4 separate regions of the Homo sapiens genome follow, and all the other regions are linked to region 3. The links are contacts of gene promoters, found by promoter capture Hi-C in blood cells and fetal thymus (Javierre and others, 2016). All regions are on one chromosome and are shown on one strand. The core of a region is centred on a gene start or on the middle of the fragment in contact, and the rest is flanking DNA. Distances in the headings are between cores, read along the strand shown. Region 1 holds the start of GLYR1 (glyoxylate reductase 1 homolog). Region 2 overlaps UBN1 (ubinuclein 1). Region 3 holds the start of NUDT16L1 (nudix hydrolase 16 like 1). Region 4 overlaps GLYR1 (glyoxylate reductase 1 homolog).

Region 1 (3,629 bases), core at 299-2,798, 150 kb after region 3:
ACTTCTGCAAAGAGGCACTGGAGTAGCACATATGGTAACATGGAAAGAAGATTTAAACTTAGTTGGGACAAAAATACTTTGGCTTTTCACTAACCTACATTTAGACTTTCTTCCTGGATAATTTATATTTTCTTCTCCTTTTGTTACATTTAAGCATAAAGCTAAATTCAGACTAGAATTATTTCCGGGGTTAAAAAAGAAACTTCATAAACCTCCTCTAAATCCAGAAATAAGGGTTTAGAGAAGATTTAATGATCTGGTGTATACTGCATTGCCTTTTAAAAAATAACCGATACTAGGGGAAAAAAAATTCTAAGTGCCATCTGAATGAGCCCAATTTAACTCAATACTAGAAACTGAGAGGAATGCATCTTACATTCTCCACCTCTTCAAACCCAACTTCAGATCTCTTCCTTTAGTAGCAAGACACTCACCTTTCCTGGCCAAGGAGGATATCGGCCGAGTTTCCCCCTAGAGAAAACACAAAGAGTCAACACTTGCCCTGCAAAAGCCAGTCCATCTCCTTCAACCCACTCAATACGCAATTTATTTTCCTAAATCTCTGCTGGCATCCTCAAATGCCGAAACAAAAGCTTTCATAGCTGGGCCCAACACCCTCAGAAGTAAAATGCAAAATTGTATACTTATGTGCACAACGCATATCCATTCTTCTGTTGACAAGGAATACAGAACAACACAACTGTCAAAAGTCACTTGTCTAGAGCTTCTTAATGACGGGGGTGGGAGGACAGCTTCCTCTGTAAACACAGACTTTCCCTCCCTAAGTCTGGTTTAATTCAACAGGAGACCTGCCTGGCTTTGACAAATGCTAATGGAAGCCTTCCTCTGGGTGGAGAAACAAGCTACGCAGCTCGAGGGAGGCGGCGACAAAGTCTTGGTTCGGGCGGTTGTCTGGGACACAGAAGCAGACCGCGGGAGGCACCCAAGCGTGCACTGGTCACTGCCAAGCCATCGGTTGTAAAGGAGAAGTCCCCCCGCCGTTTCTTCGCGGGGCAACGCCAGCAGTCCGGTTTAGACAACCCCGGCTGAGCCGGCCGCACAGGTCGGCTGCATCGCAACCTGGGCTTTGACCGAATGGCACCGGCCAGATCTCGCAGGTCCGGTCCCCGGCGCTTCTGCTTTCTGGGAAGCCCCAACAAGACCCCGGGGACCGGTCGTCCGGGGAAGCCTCGCGGCACCGGCGGCTCCCTTCACGGGGGCCGCCAGTATCTGGGCCCCGAGTGCAGACCCCACCCGGCCGGCCTCGGGGATCAAAGCCGGTGCCCGACGTGGCCACCCTCGGCCTCGGTCCCCCGGGACTGGACTGCCCCTTCCGCCTGGCGCCGCTCGCAAGCGCCGGCACCTTCTCTTCCCCTCTCTCCGCGACCTGGAGCGCATAAAAAGGCAGCTCCAGGGCCGGCAGCGAACCCCGCGCCCAGGCGGGTAGCTCCCCGGCGCGTCTCGGTTGGCCCGGCCGCTCGGACTCACCACACCAAGTCGCCGAGCCGCAGACTCACAGCCGCCATCTTACCACCCAACCACCGCCGACGCACGGGCCGCCGGGAACAGCAAGTCGCCCCGGCGCCGCCCATTGGAGTGGGCCCGACCACGTGACGGGGGCCGGCTGTCACTGGCCACGCCGCTACTCTGACGTCACCGCGCCCGCCGGGGATCATTGGTCGACCGAGGGGCACGTGACGCGAGCGCCGCGGTCTCCGCGCGCCGGAGCGCAGAGACTCCCGGCTCCTTCCCCCTCCCTTCGGCTCGTGACAACGAAGCGCCCGCGGTCTGAGGCGGCGGCGGCGGCGACGGTGCGACCGGCTGAGCGCGAGAGGGAGCCGGCCTCGCGGCTCGCCCCGCCCCCGGGTCTTGGACTCCGCGCCCCTCCCCTCTCGGCGCTTCCGTTACGCCCGTTGGTCCGGCGCGGGCCCCGGGGCCATTCCCGAGCCCGAGGCGCTGGTCGGCCCCGTCGCAGCGCCAGTGAGCTACCCTGACGGAGCTCGGCGCGGCCTGGAACTCAGCCTCCGCCGGGTCTGGGCTCCCGCGCCCGGCAACTCTGCTTGGCCGCAGGCCGGGAGGCCCCGGTGTCCGCGCCCGTCCGCTCCCGCCGCCCGTGTTCTTTGGAGCGCTCCTCCCGACGGCCGCTTTCGGAGGCGCCGTCTGAGCGCGGGGTCCCGCGCCGCAAGTTCTCCTGGGGCGACCGGAGGCTGCTCCCCCGACCCCCTGGTGTCCCCGGAGTGGCTGCGCGGACGTCGAGTTGGCATTTCTTCGCTTCCTCCTGGGCCGGCGCGCGGCGCGGCACACCAGGCTCCCCTGGGCTCGGGGACCCGGCCATGGGCCGAGGCGCGGGCCGCCCGCCCGCTGGGAGCCACGGCTTAGCAGCCGACCGCTAGCTGCGCCGCCGCCCGGGGACCGGCATGAGGACCGCCGCGGGGGGACGTCTGCGGCCCGCGTCGGCGCTGGGGACAAAGGTGCGTGTCGTTGTCGGGTCCGGGCTCTCTCGTTAGCCTTGCCCTAGTTTTGCACTTTTGAAAAAGTTGTGACAACAGGAAGACAGATGCCGGGCGTAGTTTGGACACTTTAAAACTGAACCATGAACTGGGAAGTGTTAACTGCAGTTGAGCGCAGCGTCGGCCCAAACTTCAGCAGACCAGGTAGAATCACAATTTTGCAAAAGATCCCAGTCCCGATCACAGACTCCACAGTGTTAAGGATTGACTTAGACTTGGTGTCGGGCTCTTGTTGAGTCACTGCCAGCTGGCAAAGGTGGCGAGTCGACACGCATTTCCCCAAGGCATTGTGGTGGTTAGAGATTTCGGTTGCAAGTCGGTGTTTAGCGTACTGGGTCGTCCCGCAGCCTGATTTTTCTTGGGAGATCAGTTTCCCTGAAGTACCAAGAATTAGCTGCACGGACTGTCATTTACTGCGTGTGTATTTTTAAGACAAAGTGATCTTTAAAGCGTATTTAAGATTCCAGGGAATAATTTGATAAAAATTTAACATAAGTTCCTGTTTAAAAATTCTGAATTTGTGAGGAATTGAATGAGATTTTAATAACTTAAATAAAAACATGAATCTTGGCCGGGCAGGGTGGTATAAGCCTGTAATCCCAGCATTTTGGGATGCCGAGGCGGGTGGACCACCTGAGATCAGGAGTTCGAGACCAGCCTGGCCAACACGGTCAAACCCAGTACTCTACTAAAAATACAAAATTAGCCGGGCGTGGTGGCGCATGCCTGTAGTCCCAGCTACTTGGGAGGCTGAGGCAGGAGAATCGCTTAACCCGGGAAGCGGAGGTTGCCGTGAGCCGAGATTATGTCACTGCACTCCAGCTAGGCGACAGAGCGAGCGAGACTCGTCCCCCCGCCAAAAAGAAAAAAGAAAAAAAAATCTCAAATGAACATTGCACCAAAACCTAGAGGCATTCCCCTTAACATCAGAAACATGGTACATTTCTACCACTATTAGATAATAAGAATATATTGCCTAAAACCTGAAAGTTCTAGCCAGTGCAGTAAGACAGGAAACAAAAATAAGAAATGCAATTTTTGGAAAAGGGAAGACAGAATTCTCATTTCCGTGGATGATAGGTCTGCCTATTTTGAAAACAAAAACAAAAACCAAAAAAC
Region 2 (3,551 bases), core at 456-2,955, 170 kb after region 3:
CTTTGTGGGAGGAATCTGTGATCCTGGTTTGTTGTTGTTGTTGCCTTTTTTTTTTTTTTTTTTTTTTTGAGACAGAGTCTGACTCCATCACCCAGGCTGGAGTGCAGTGGTGCAATCTCAGCTCACTGCAACATCCACCTCCGCCTTCTGGGTTCAAGTGATTCTTGTGCCTCAGCCTCCCGAGTAGCTGGGATTACAGGCGTGAGCCACTGCGCCTGGCCTGTGTTCCTGTTTTGTATTCTGCCACAGTACATAGCAGATTCTTATCCCATGTGTATTGATCCCTTAGGGGAAAAAACTCTGGGAAGCAAAATTAGATATATCTTCTAACTAAATATGGTACTTAAAACTTTAAAAAATGTCTTTGAAAACTTGTGTATGTTAAAGAGGTCCTCTGAGAGGGAACCTTGGTGATGCCTCTGCCACGTTCACTACATTCTCACATCAGCCTGTTTTTTGTTACTGATTTGTATTGTACATTTGTATAGGCCCCAGGGAATCCAGTGATTTGATGGCCTTACCCTGCCCTCTGTTAATATGCATTGATGGTGTCTTTTGTCTTGGTTGTTGGCAGGTACAGGTGCTGACAAAGCTCAGGTTTGATGCTCCTTTGGGTTATTGTCTTGAGGTAGTTTGACAGCTACTCAGCCTTGGGCTGGACAAATAACCCAGATCTATTTTGGTTCTCTTTAGTCAAGCATAACATAGAGACAATACTAAGAGCAGGAATCAAAGAGACCCCATGTCACCCATTCTGCTCTGCCCTCTATAGAATTAGAACCCCTCATCACAAGAAGTGCAGGGAGAGATGGATCCAAAGAGAATAACGTAGGGGGAAAAAAAACGAAAACAACTTGTTTGATCTTTTTAAAAAAAATCATGCCCGATTTTCTCCTACTCAGCAAAAACAGATACAGTATATAAGATTTTGAGCTGGGTGCTAAAAGGCTACAGGTGACTTTTCTTAGAATAAATAAAACAGCTCATTAAAAGGCTGTTGGAACTCTTATAAATCAGCATGATTGGGATGTTTAACCTCATTTACTAGTTAACTTAGGATTGATTAATTCACACAACTTCTGGGGTAAGAGTGTCTCTTTTTAGGGGTGAGGGACCCCATTTATTTTTGGAAGACTATCAGATATATATCCAATTGCTCTTTTAATTAGATTTACTTTAAAATGCCGCAGTCGACTCTTCAGTATAAAGCCAGACCCTCAGAGATATTGTCTATGCAATTCAAAAGGTTTACAGAAAAGTACTTTCTAAAATTACATAATATTATTTAAAATATTTTTAAAGATTGCGTAAAGATTACATAGAAAGCTTCTGAAATATTGTACAAGTGGCTATCTAAACAGAAAATTTGGCAGGGCGCGGTGGCTCATGCCTGTAATCGCAGTACTTTGGGAGGCCGAGGTGGGAGGATCACCTGAGCCCAGGAGTTCCAGACCAGCCTGGGTAACAGAGTGAGAAAAAAAAATCTAAAAATTAGTCAGGCGTGGTTGCGTGCAGCTGTAGTCCCAGCTGCTTGGGAAGCTGAGGCGGGAGGATTATTTGAGCCTGGGAGGTCAAGGCTGTATGAGCTGCGATCACGTCACTGCACTCCAGAATGGGTGACAGAGTGAGACCATCTCAATAAAATAAGATGCTGGGCATGGTGGCTCAGCCTGTAATCCCAGCATTTTGGGTGGCTGAGGCGGGCGGATCACTTGGGGTCAGATGTTTGAGACCAGCCTGGCCAACATGGTGAAACCCCATCTCTACTAAAAATACAAAAAATTAGCCGAACATGGGGGTGGGTGCCTGTAATCCCAGCTACTCAGGAGGCTGAGGCAGGAGAATCACTTGAACCCGGGAGGTGGAGGTTGCAGTGAGCTGAGATCACGCCATTGCACTCCAGCCTGGGCAACAGAACAAGACTCCGTCTCAAAAACTAAACTAAAATAAAAAAATAAAAAATAATAAGATAAAATTTGATTGGAAGTTTAAGCTGTAGATGGGTCTGAAAGTGTGGCATGTGAAATACATGTTAATTAGTTTGAATTAATGTAAGGGTGCTTCTCGATCTTAAAACTAGCAGTGTAAGCTTAAGCAAAAAAAGTTCAGTTTTATTTTTTCCCAGACTAATATAATTCTAGTACCTTCCAAGTGCTAAGGTAGAATTCTGAATGTTTCCAAGAGTGTAAGAAATTGGCACATGGCTGGGTGAAAAGTCATGCCCTTTTTTTCCATTATTCGTCTGTGGATTTCACCCCTCTGGGCTTTCACCTAGCCAAGGGATCTGTAGAAGCTTGAGTTTTGCGCATTTTCTTCTGACTTAGTTTTGGTTGTTTGGTGTTAAGCTTTTCTTCCTGTGGCGTGCCGTTTTACAGTAGTATCTTCATTTGTTGATTCATTCACTCAGTCAACATTTAGTAAATATTATGTGACAGGCAGCCATGGGAAATATACTGATGAATAAGACTCAGTTCTATATTTTATTTTATTATTATTTTTTAAGACAGGGTCTTGCTCTGTCACCCAGGCTGGAGTGCAGTGGCACGATCTTGCCTTACTGCAACCTCCACGCCCAGGGCTCAAGTGATCCTGCCACCTCAGCCTCCAGAGTAGTTGGGACCACAGGCATGCACCACCATGCCCAGCTTTTTTTTGTATTTTTAGTAGAGACAGGGTCTCATCATGTGCCCAAGCTGGTCTGAAACTCCTGAGCTCGCGTGTTCCGCCCACCTTGGCCTCCCAATGTGTTAGGATTACAGGTGTGAGCCACCGCGCCGGGCCAAGGTTCCATTCTTGTCTTTCATGAGCTCGTTACATAAATGGACCCGATAGATACGCAGACAATGGACTGTAGTACAGAGCAGAATGAAGTAAGCTTTGTGATGTGTGGACGGCCAGATAGCCGGACTTAAGGGGTTAAAGAGAGGCTCTTGGGGGGCATATAGGAAGCAGACTGGAGGCAACAGGCTTCGCCGGCCTCCTGGGGAAGATGCCCTAAGAGAAGGCAGGGAGCAGAGCTGAAGATGGGCGAGTTGGTGGATGGCTGGGCCAGATCGTGGAGGACCCCAAATGCCATGTGAAGGAGTTTGGGTTTGATACCAGGCTTGGAAAGAGCTGCTGAAGGGTTCTGAAGAAGGGAGTGGCGGTCTTAAGGTTGGAGTGCAATTATTAGAAGTGGGGAACACAGGGGAAGAGCAGAAGCCAGTGGGTCTGGTGTAAGTTGAGTTTGCAAACCAGAGGGTCATCCATCCACAGAAGTGCAGTTGACCCTTGAACAACACAGGGTTTAACTGCGTGGATCCACTTACACGCAGATGTTTTCTAACCAAATGTGGGTTGATTTGAGGGATGCTAAATCTGTGTATAGAGGGCTAACTTTTTGTATAGGCAGGTTCCTCAGGGCTGACTGTGCAGTTGGATTTTGGTATATACGGGGGTCCTGTAACCAATCCCCTGCCTATACCAGGCGTTGACTGTAATTGGGAAATTTCTCAGAGATAACTGGAAATTCTGGTCCAGAGCTTAGATGAGAGGATTTAGGGCTTAGTTTA
Region 3 (3,531 bases), core at 663-3,162:
GAAGAGCTTGTAGGGGCTGCTGGAGTGTTTTTATAAGGGGGAGTCAGTTTTAAAAACAGGCTTCCAAGCGGAGAAGCAGTGCTAGCACCCTGCGGCTGGCGTGTGGAGGCCGGACGGTGGGAGCAGGTCTAGCTGCCCATGGTTGTGGGCTCGCAGGCTGGAGCCCGGCCCCAGGCCTCTGCACAGCCCCCGCTCCCCTGCCCAGGGAGTGGCCAGTGCCCCAGGGCACCCACCACACCACTGCCTACCACTCAGGGCCCCAGCTCCTTTGCGTGCAGGTCAAGCTGCCACCATGGCCCTTCTTTGAAGACTGTGAGGGTGGAGGGAAAGCCCGTGTTCTAGCCCATCAGTCCCTGCCCCGAGAAGGCTGCCACCCATGGGCCCTGCAGCTGCTCTGACCTGCCTGGGTCTGGCCCCATCCCAGTGTGGGTAGAGGGGTGCCCAGGGTGTCAGACGGGTGCTTGCATGGGCCAGATGGGCTCCCCCTCTGTACCTCCCAGAAGAGCCAGCGCTTGTATTGATGTCTGGTCTCGGGGAGGGGCTGCAGCAAGGGGAGCCTCTCCTCCTCTGCCCCTGCGTCCCACGGGCCCTGGGCGCTGGCTGGGCTTGGCTGCCTAGGGGTGGGGCCCTCTTTGGGTGAGAGGACCCTTCCCCTCGCTGCCCTCTCGCCTTCTCACATGGTCGCTCACTCTGGAATCTGGACTTCCCCTGCTGCTTGCAGCTGTCCCATGTGACCCCTGACCCACTGGTGGCCACAGGAGGAGAGAGAGGTGCCCTCTCTGGGTCCTTATTCTCCACATCTGAGGCCACCACGGACCTAACAGGTGAGTTTCCAATGCCCACCCTCTCCCTCTCTCTTCTCCTGCCTGCCTCCACTGAAGGCAGCCTTCTCTGTGCCAGCGAGCTCGGCCTCACTGCACGGCTCTCCCGAGGCTGTGCCCCAGCCCTGGGCACCCATGCTGTGAGTGCAGGCAGGGGGGTTCATGTGCTCAGCAAATCCATTCCCCTGGTGGGGAGGAAAGTGGCCCTGGGCCCTGCTGCTGGTGAGGTGAGCCTTGCCATCATGGAGTTCAGGGCACCTCGCTCTGCCTTGGGCTGTTTCGGATGCTTCTGAGCCCCAGAGACATCTCCAGTACAAACACAAGGTAAGTGGTAAGTACCTCAGGCCCTTGTGGAATCGGGATTCTGCCTCTGTCATCAACTGCCAGTTGTACTTAGGCAAGTTATGTCCCTCTCTGAGCTCCAAGTTCCTCATCGTAAATTGGGGAAACCCCTCTTCCCCCCACAGTACCTGGCACAGGGTGCCCGGCTTGGAGGATGCTGGAAAGGTCCAGCCCCGGAATTTAAGTCACTTTCTGCCCAGCAAGCTGGGTCCACAGAGCCCCAGAGCTCCCGGTCGTCCGCCCTGACCCAGCGTGGACTCGGGGACTGGGGCACTCAAGCCCTGCCAAGCCCTGCTCCCCGTGCTGTCCTGGATCGAGCCTGCCAGCAGGGTGGCTAGGTCGGGACAGCTGTCGTGCATGGCAGGCGAAGGCCATCTCCCTCCGGGCTTGGGTCCGGTGGCGCTGGCGGAGCAAGGCTCCGGGGCATCTCTGGCTCGTGTGGTCGTGCCAAGGGTGCCATTGCGGATGGACGGGGCCATGCGGGCCGGGTCGGCCTCCTGGGGAGAAACGGGTGGGCGCAAGGGGATCGGCGCCATCGAGGGTGGAGAAACCGCAGGGAATTTCGGCTGTCCGCTTTGGGGCGCCAAGGAAGATGTTCGTCGCCCACAATGTCAACCTTGAGCCACCACGGCACCGACCAGTCGTCTAGGCTCTCCCGTCGGAGGCGGGGCCGCCGCCCAGGGTGTGCGACTATTGGGTGACGGCTGACGCGCACCGCCCTCCTTTGCACACCGCCCGCAGCACCTCTCGACGACGCACCGCGGCGCTGCGAGGGGCTCGGTCCCGGGGCGCGCCGGCGATTGGCGGGGGAACCGGACCCGGGGGCGCGGCCGCCCGCGGATTGGCGAGGCACGGCGGGGGCGGGCTCGCGCATGCTCTTAAGTGGCAGCGGCGGGGACGGGGTCAGTGCCAAGATGTCGACGGCGGCGGTTCCGGAGCTGAAGCAGATCAGCCGGGTGGAGGCGATGCGCCTAGGGCCGGGCTGGAGCCACTCGTGCCACGCCATGCTGTACGCCGCCAACCCTGGGCAGCTCTTCGGCCGCATCCCCATGCGCTTCTCGGTGCTGGTGAGGACGGGCGAGGGCGCGGGCGAGGGTGCCGGCGCGGGCGGGCCCGGGCGGGGGCGTCCGTCGACCCCGCGGCTGTGACCCGCGCTCCCTTGCAGATGCAGATGCGTTTCGACGGGCTGCTGGGCTTCCCCGGGGGCTTCGTGGACCGGCGCTTCTGGTCGCTGGAGGACGGCCTGAACCGGGTGCTGGGCCTGGGCCTGGGCTGCCTGCGCCTCACCGAGGCCGACTACCTGAGCTCGCACCTGACCGAGGGCCCACACCGCGTCGTGGCGCACCTGTACGCGCGGCAGCTGACGCTGGAGCAGCTGCACGCCGTGGAGATCAGCGCGGTGCACTCGCGCGACCACGGCCTGGAGGTGGGGCCGCCGCCCGGGCCCCGCCCCCCGCCCCGGGGTTTGGCTCTGGCCCCGTGGAAGGCACCGATGGGTAACACGTCTCCTGAGGGTCCCCTGGCCGGGCTGGGTCGGGTGTCGCTGTCTCCAGCAATGGGGTGGGGAGAGGGGTCTGGGGCTGGGAGGCCGGGAAAGGAGGGGCGGGGGTGGGGGCCGGCGCTGGGGCTCCCTCAGGGCTGTGTTACATCCGCCTTGCTGCCTGCCATTGCCAATCCTGGGAGTGGGGGAGTGGGATCGGTGGGGAGGAAGGGATGGGGGAGGAGCGGGGATTGCTTGGGGAGTTGGGAAACTTGAGCACAGCGGGGGTTGTAAAACTTGGGAACCTCATGTTGGGCGTGAAGGCTCTTGGGATTTGTACTTTGTGGTCTGGAAGGGCTGGACTGCGGGTGTTCAGGCTTCGTTGGGTGGACGGGGGGAGCATGGGGTGCGGACCCCGGGGTGGGGTGGCCTGGGTACGAGGGGGGGGAGTGCATGGGGTCAGCCTCCACACTTGCTTGGGGAGGAGGGGGCTGCACTGCTCCGAGGGAGCTGGCTGGCTTCTGCCAGGCCCTGCGTGGGTCTCCCATTAAGTCCTTGGCAAAGCTGGCTGCTCATACCCTGGCCTCATAGCTTCCAGGCCCCTCCTGCTGGAGGTGCCATTGTGTGGCAGGCCTGGCCCCAACCCCTACCTCCTGTCTGCGCAGGTGCTGGGCCTCGTGCGGGTCCCGCTGTACACCCAGAAGGACCGAGTCGGAGGCTTCCCCAACTTCCTGAGCAACGCCTTCGTGAGCACGGCTAAGTGCCAGCTCCTCTTTGCCCTCAAGGTGCTCAACATGATGCCCGAGGAGAAGCTGGTTGAGGCCCTGGCTGCAGCCACCGAGAAGCAGAAGAAGGCCCTGGAGAAGTTGCTCCCGGCCTCCTCTTGAG
Region 4 (3,519 bases), core at 161-2,660, 130 kb after region 3:
GCATGGTCTACAGGGAGGGTCTTGCAAGTTCTGCCGTCTCCCACCCATCCCACGCCAATCTCCAACCTCAAGTCCTATTTCTTCCCCCGTCACTGCTCTCTAGCTCGTTAGCACCCTGCTGGCTTTCCCCCCCGCACCAAACACACCAAGCATGTGCCTGCCCTGGCACCCTTGTGCTACTTGGAACGTTCTTCTGACAGTTATCTCCTTGGCTCAGGCTCGCTTTGGGACTCTGCTGAAATGTCACCTTATCAGAGTGGCTTCACCTGACCTCTTTTTATGTTTGCCCATAGAACATGATGCTGATGTGGATTATAATGAGAACAAATGCCTTCATAGGGCTTACTATGTGCTAGACATCACAATAAGTCCTATTTTATACATACATTCTCATGTAATTCTTGCCCCTTCATGAAACAGAATTATTATCATCTTCTTTTTTTTTTTTTGAGACGGAGTCTTGCTCTGTAGCCCAGGCTGCAGTGCAGTGGCACAATCTTGGCTCACTGCAACCTCTGTCTCCTGGGTTCCAGCGATTCTCCTGCCTCAGCCTCCTGAGTAGCTGGGACCACAGGCGCGCGGCCACCATGCCCAGCTAATTTTTTGTATTTTTAGTAGAGACGGGGTTTCACCATGTTAGCCAGGATGGTCTCGATCTCCTGACCTCGTGATCCGCCCGCCTCGGCCTCCCAAAGTGCTGGGATTACAGGCGTGAGCCACTGCACCCAGCCCTATTATAATCTTCTTTTACAGAATAGAAAACTAAGGCACACAGAGCTTAAGTAACCTTGCTTAAGGTCACCGAGTCAGTCACTGGTGTGGTAGACACAACTTATTTATTTATTTGGAGGCATAGTCTAGCTGTCACCCAGGCTGGAGTGCAGTGACTCAATTATGGCTCACTGCAGCCTCAACCACTTGAGCTCAAGTGATCTTCCCACCTCAGCCTCCTGGGTAGCTGGGACTACAGGTGTGTGCCACTACGCCCAGCTAATTTTTTATTTTTATTTTTTGTAGATGTATTATTTATTTGCAATTATTTGTTTTCTGTAATTTCTAATTTTTTGTTTTTATAGGGTCTTGCTATGTTGGCCAGACTGGTCTCTAACTTCTGGCCTCAAGTGGTCCTCCTACCTCGGCCTTCCAAAGTGCTGGGATTATGGGAGTGAGCCACTGTGCCTAGCAGACTGACAGAATTTGGCTCCAGGGTCTGTCATATTAGAAGCACATCCTAGAAAAGCAAGAACTCTGCCAGTCTGGCCTACTCTACAACCCATGCTGCCATACAGTCCAGGTTCAATTCTTACTGAAGGAGCCTCGTCTGACTTTTATGCTGCTTTCTCTCCAGGCATTTGGCCTATAGGAGAATTACTCAATAAACATTTGTTGAATGCAGAGGTTTTTGGGGGAAAAGAAAAGGCCCAGCCCAGAGCTGCCCAAAAGAATATTCTGCAATGATGGGCGTGTACTCCATCTGCACTGTGTGATAGAGCAGGCGCCAGTCAAGCGTCACTGTGGAGCATCTCACACAATAGGGTGATGGAGAAGCTGCATTTTAATGTGCATTTAATTTCAATTTAAATGGCCAATTGTGGCTGGGGCAGCACAGCTGTCTTGGGTGGTGCAGCCCTAGGACTCACCTAAGGCCACAATGACCCAATGGAAACAAGGAGGAGGCAGCTTGTAACTCTCAGTTTGGCACTAAGGAAGGGCCCCAACTCCTAAACTTCTGCTCCTCGTGTGAGTATGGGATTTTGGGAGAGTCACAGAACTAACAGCGCTACTTTGATCTGGGTGGGCTGTGCCCAGAGTTCATCCCCAGAAAGAGGGTAGGTGGGCGCTGCTGGGGTGCAGCTCTTACATGCAGGTCCAGACGCAAACCCAGCCTTTCCCTGCCTGCCTCCGCCATCAAGGTCAGCTTTTTCCATTAATCCTCACGGGGCAGGAGATTATGTCCCGGAATGGCACTCAGCTGGGCTTTGCCCAGTTATCAGCCTATGTGACTGCTCAGTGTTTCTGAGAGGAGCTCGCCAGCCAAATGACAATTACTATAGCAACACACACACAAACACCCTCCTCTGAGACTACGGGATGTATCGCATTTAAAACACACCAAAATTCCAAAGCCCAGGCACCGATTCCCTACCTGTCTGAAGGTGCTGAACTGAAACGGCTATCTGTCCTGTACCACATGCCAGCTCTGTCCTCTCCTGCTCATACGTCCTTTCACTATGGGCCAGGTGAAGCACAAAGAACAGGCAGGAAGGACACCTCGAAGGGTCAATAGCAGCTAGAGCTCCTGGACCACAGACACACCTCGTTTTATTATGCGTTGTTTTATTGTGCTTTGTAGGTGTTGCACTTAAAAAAACAAACAAACAAACAAACAAAAAAAACGGGCCAGGCACGGTGGCTCACGCCTGTCATCCCAGCACTTTGGGAGGCCGAGGCAGGTGGATCATGAGGTCAGGAGATCGACACCATCCTGGCTAACATGATGAAACCCCGTCTCTACTAAAAACACAAAAAATTAGCCGGGCGTGGTGGCGGGCACCTGTAGTCCCAGCTGCTCCAGAGGCTGAGGCAGGAGAATGGCATTAACCCAGGAGGCGGAGCTTGCAGTGAGCCGAGATTGCGCCACTGCACCGCAGCCTGGGCGACAGCACGAGACTCCGTCTCAAAAAAAACAAACCAAAAAACCAAAAAACCAAAAAACGAATTGAAGGTTTGTGGCAACCCAGTATCAATCAAATCTATGGGGGACATTTTCCCAACAGCATGTGTTCACTTTGTGTCTCTGTCAGCATTTTTTTTTTTAAGCAATGAAGTATTTTTAACTTAAGGCATGTATATATATATATTTTTTTGAGATGGAGTCTCGCTCTGTCACCCAGGCTGGGGTGCAGTGGCGTGATCTCGGCTCACTTCAAGCTCCGCCTCCCGGGTTCACGCCATTCTCCTACCTCAGCCTCCTGAGTAGCTGGGACTATAGGCGCCCACCACCATGCCCGGCTAATTTTTCGTATTTTTAGTAGAGACGGGGTTTCACCGTGTTAGCCAGGATGGTCTCCATCTCCTGACCTCATGATCCGCCCGCCTCGGCCTCCCAAAGCGCTGGGATTACAGGCGTGAGCCACCGCGCCCGGCAAAGGTATGTACATTTTAAAAAGACATATTGCTATTGTACCACTTAATAGACTACAGTATAAACCTAACTTTAACATGCAATGGGAAACCAAGACGTTTGTGTGACCTGCAATGATCTGGAATCGAACCTGCAGTATCTCCAACGTATGCTACACTACTCCCCAGATTAATAATTCAGACCCAAGGGCTGTCTGCAGTTTATTGGGAGCTCGTGAGACGAGTTCCTGTAAGCCTGGGCAGTGGCCTCTGGGGTTCTCACTGTACAAACGGCCAGTGTCTGCGAAACAAACCTAAAGAACTGATCAAATGCCTTGTACACAGGCACTGTTCTAAGTGCTGTGTCCATGTCACTCATTTAACTAACACAGTGAA

The links. The method cuts DNA at HindIII sites, captures the fragments that hold promoters and counts their contacts. A CHiCAGO score of 5 or more calls a contact.
Region 1: the fragment with the promoter of GLYR1 here is called in contact with the fragment with the promoter of NUDT16L1 in region 3 in 2 of 17 cell types (M2 macrophages and erythroblasts); the score reaches 6.0 in M2 macrophages.
Region 2: a contact is called between a fragment that was not itself captured here and the fragment with the promoter of NUDT16L1 in region 3, in 3 of 17 cell types (erythroblasts, M2 macrophages and megakaryocytes). The highest score is 7.1, in erythroblasts.
Region 4: a fragment that was not itself captured here is called in contact with the fragment with the promoter of NUDT16L1 in region 3 in 1 of 17 cell types (M1 macrophages); the score reaches 5.1 in M1 macrophages.

The regions. Positions count from the first base shown.
Region 1 is chr16:4,845,740-4,849,368 of GRCh38, forward strand. GLYR1 (glyoxylate reductase 1 homolog) reads right to left here and starts at 1,549. Exons shown (of 16, transcript NM_032569.4): 1 at 1,489-1,549; 2 at 435-471. The coding sequence starts at 1,526. It overlaps UBN1 (ubinuclein 1), which reads left to right and starts at 1,742. Exons shown (of 18, transcript NM_001079514.3): 1 at 1,742-2,471. RefSeq lists enhancers at 993-1,052, 1,353-1,412, 1,708-2,550 and silencers at 1,603-2,322, 2,333-2,422. The HindIII fragment of the contact is 6,120 bases long and covers 592-3,629 here.
Region 2 is chr16:4,864,031-4,867,581 of GRCh38, forward strand. All of the region lies in intron 7 of UBN1 (ubinuclein 1), which reads left to right. Among named protein-coding and RNA genes, the nearest start is that of UBN1, 18 kb to the left of the region's middle. The HindIII fragment of the contact is 763 bases long and covers 1,325-2,087 here.
Region 3 is chr16:4,691,650-4,695,180 of GRCh38, forward strand. It overlaps NUDT16L1 (nudix hydrolase 16 like 1), which reads left to right and starts at 1,913. Exons shown (of 3, transcript NM_032349.4): 1 at 1,913-2,230; 2 at 2,329-2,589; 3 at 3,309-3,531. The coding sequence starts at 2,078. The coding sequence ends at 3,530. RefSeq lists enhancers at 1,484-1,573, 1,825-2,332, 2,333-2,840, 3,443-3,531 and silencers at 1,764-2,123, 2,234-2,733. The HindIII fragment of the contact is 13,448 bases long and covers 1-3,531 here.
Region 4 is chr16:4,825,221-4,828,739 of GRCh38, forward strand. All of the region lies in intron 5 of GLYR1 (glyoxylate reductase 1 homolog), which reads right to left. Among named protein-coding and RNA genes, the nearest start is that of GLYR1, 20 kb to the right of the region's middle. The HindIII fragment of the contact is 9,601 bases long and covers 1-3,519 here.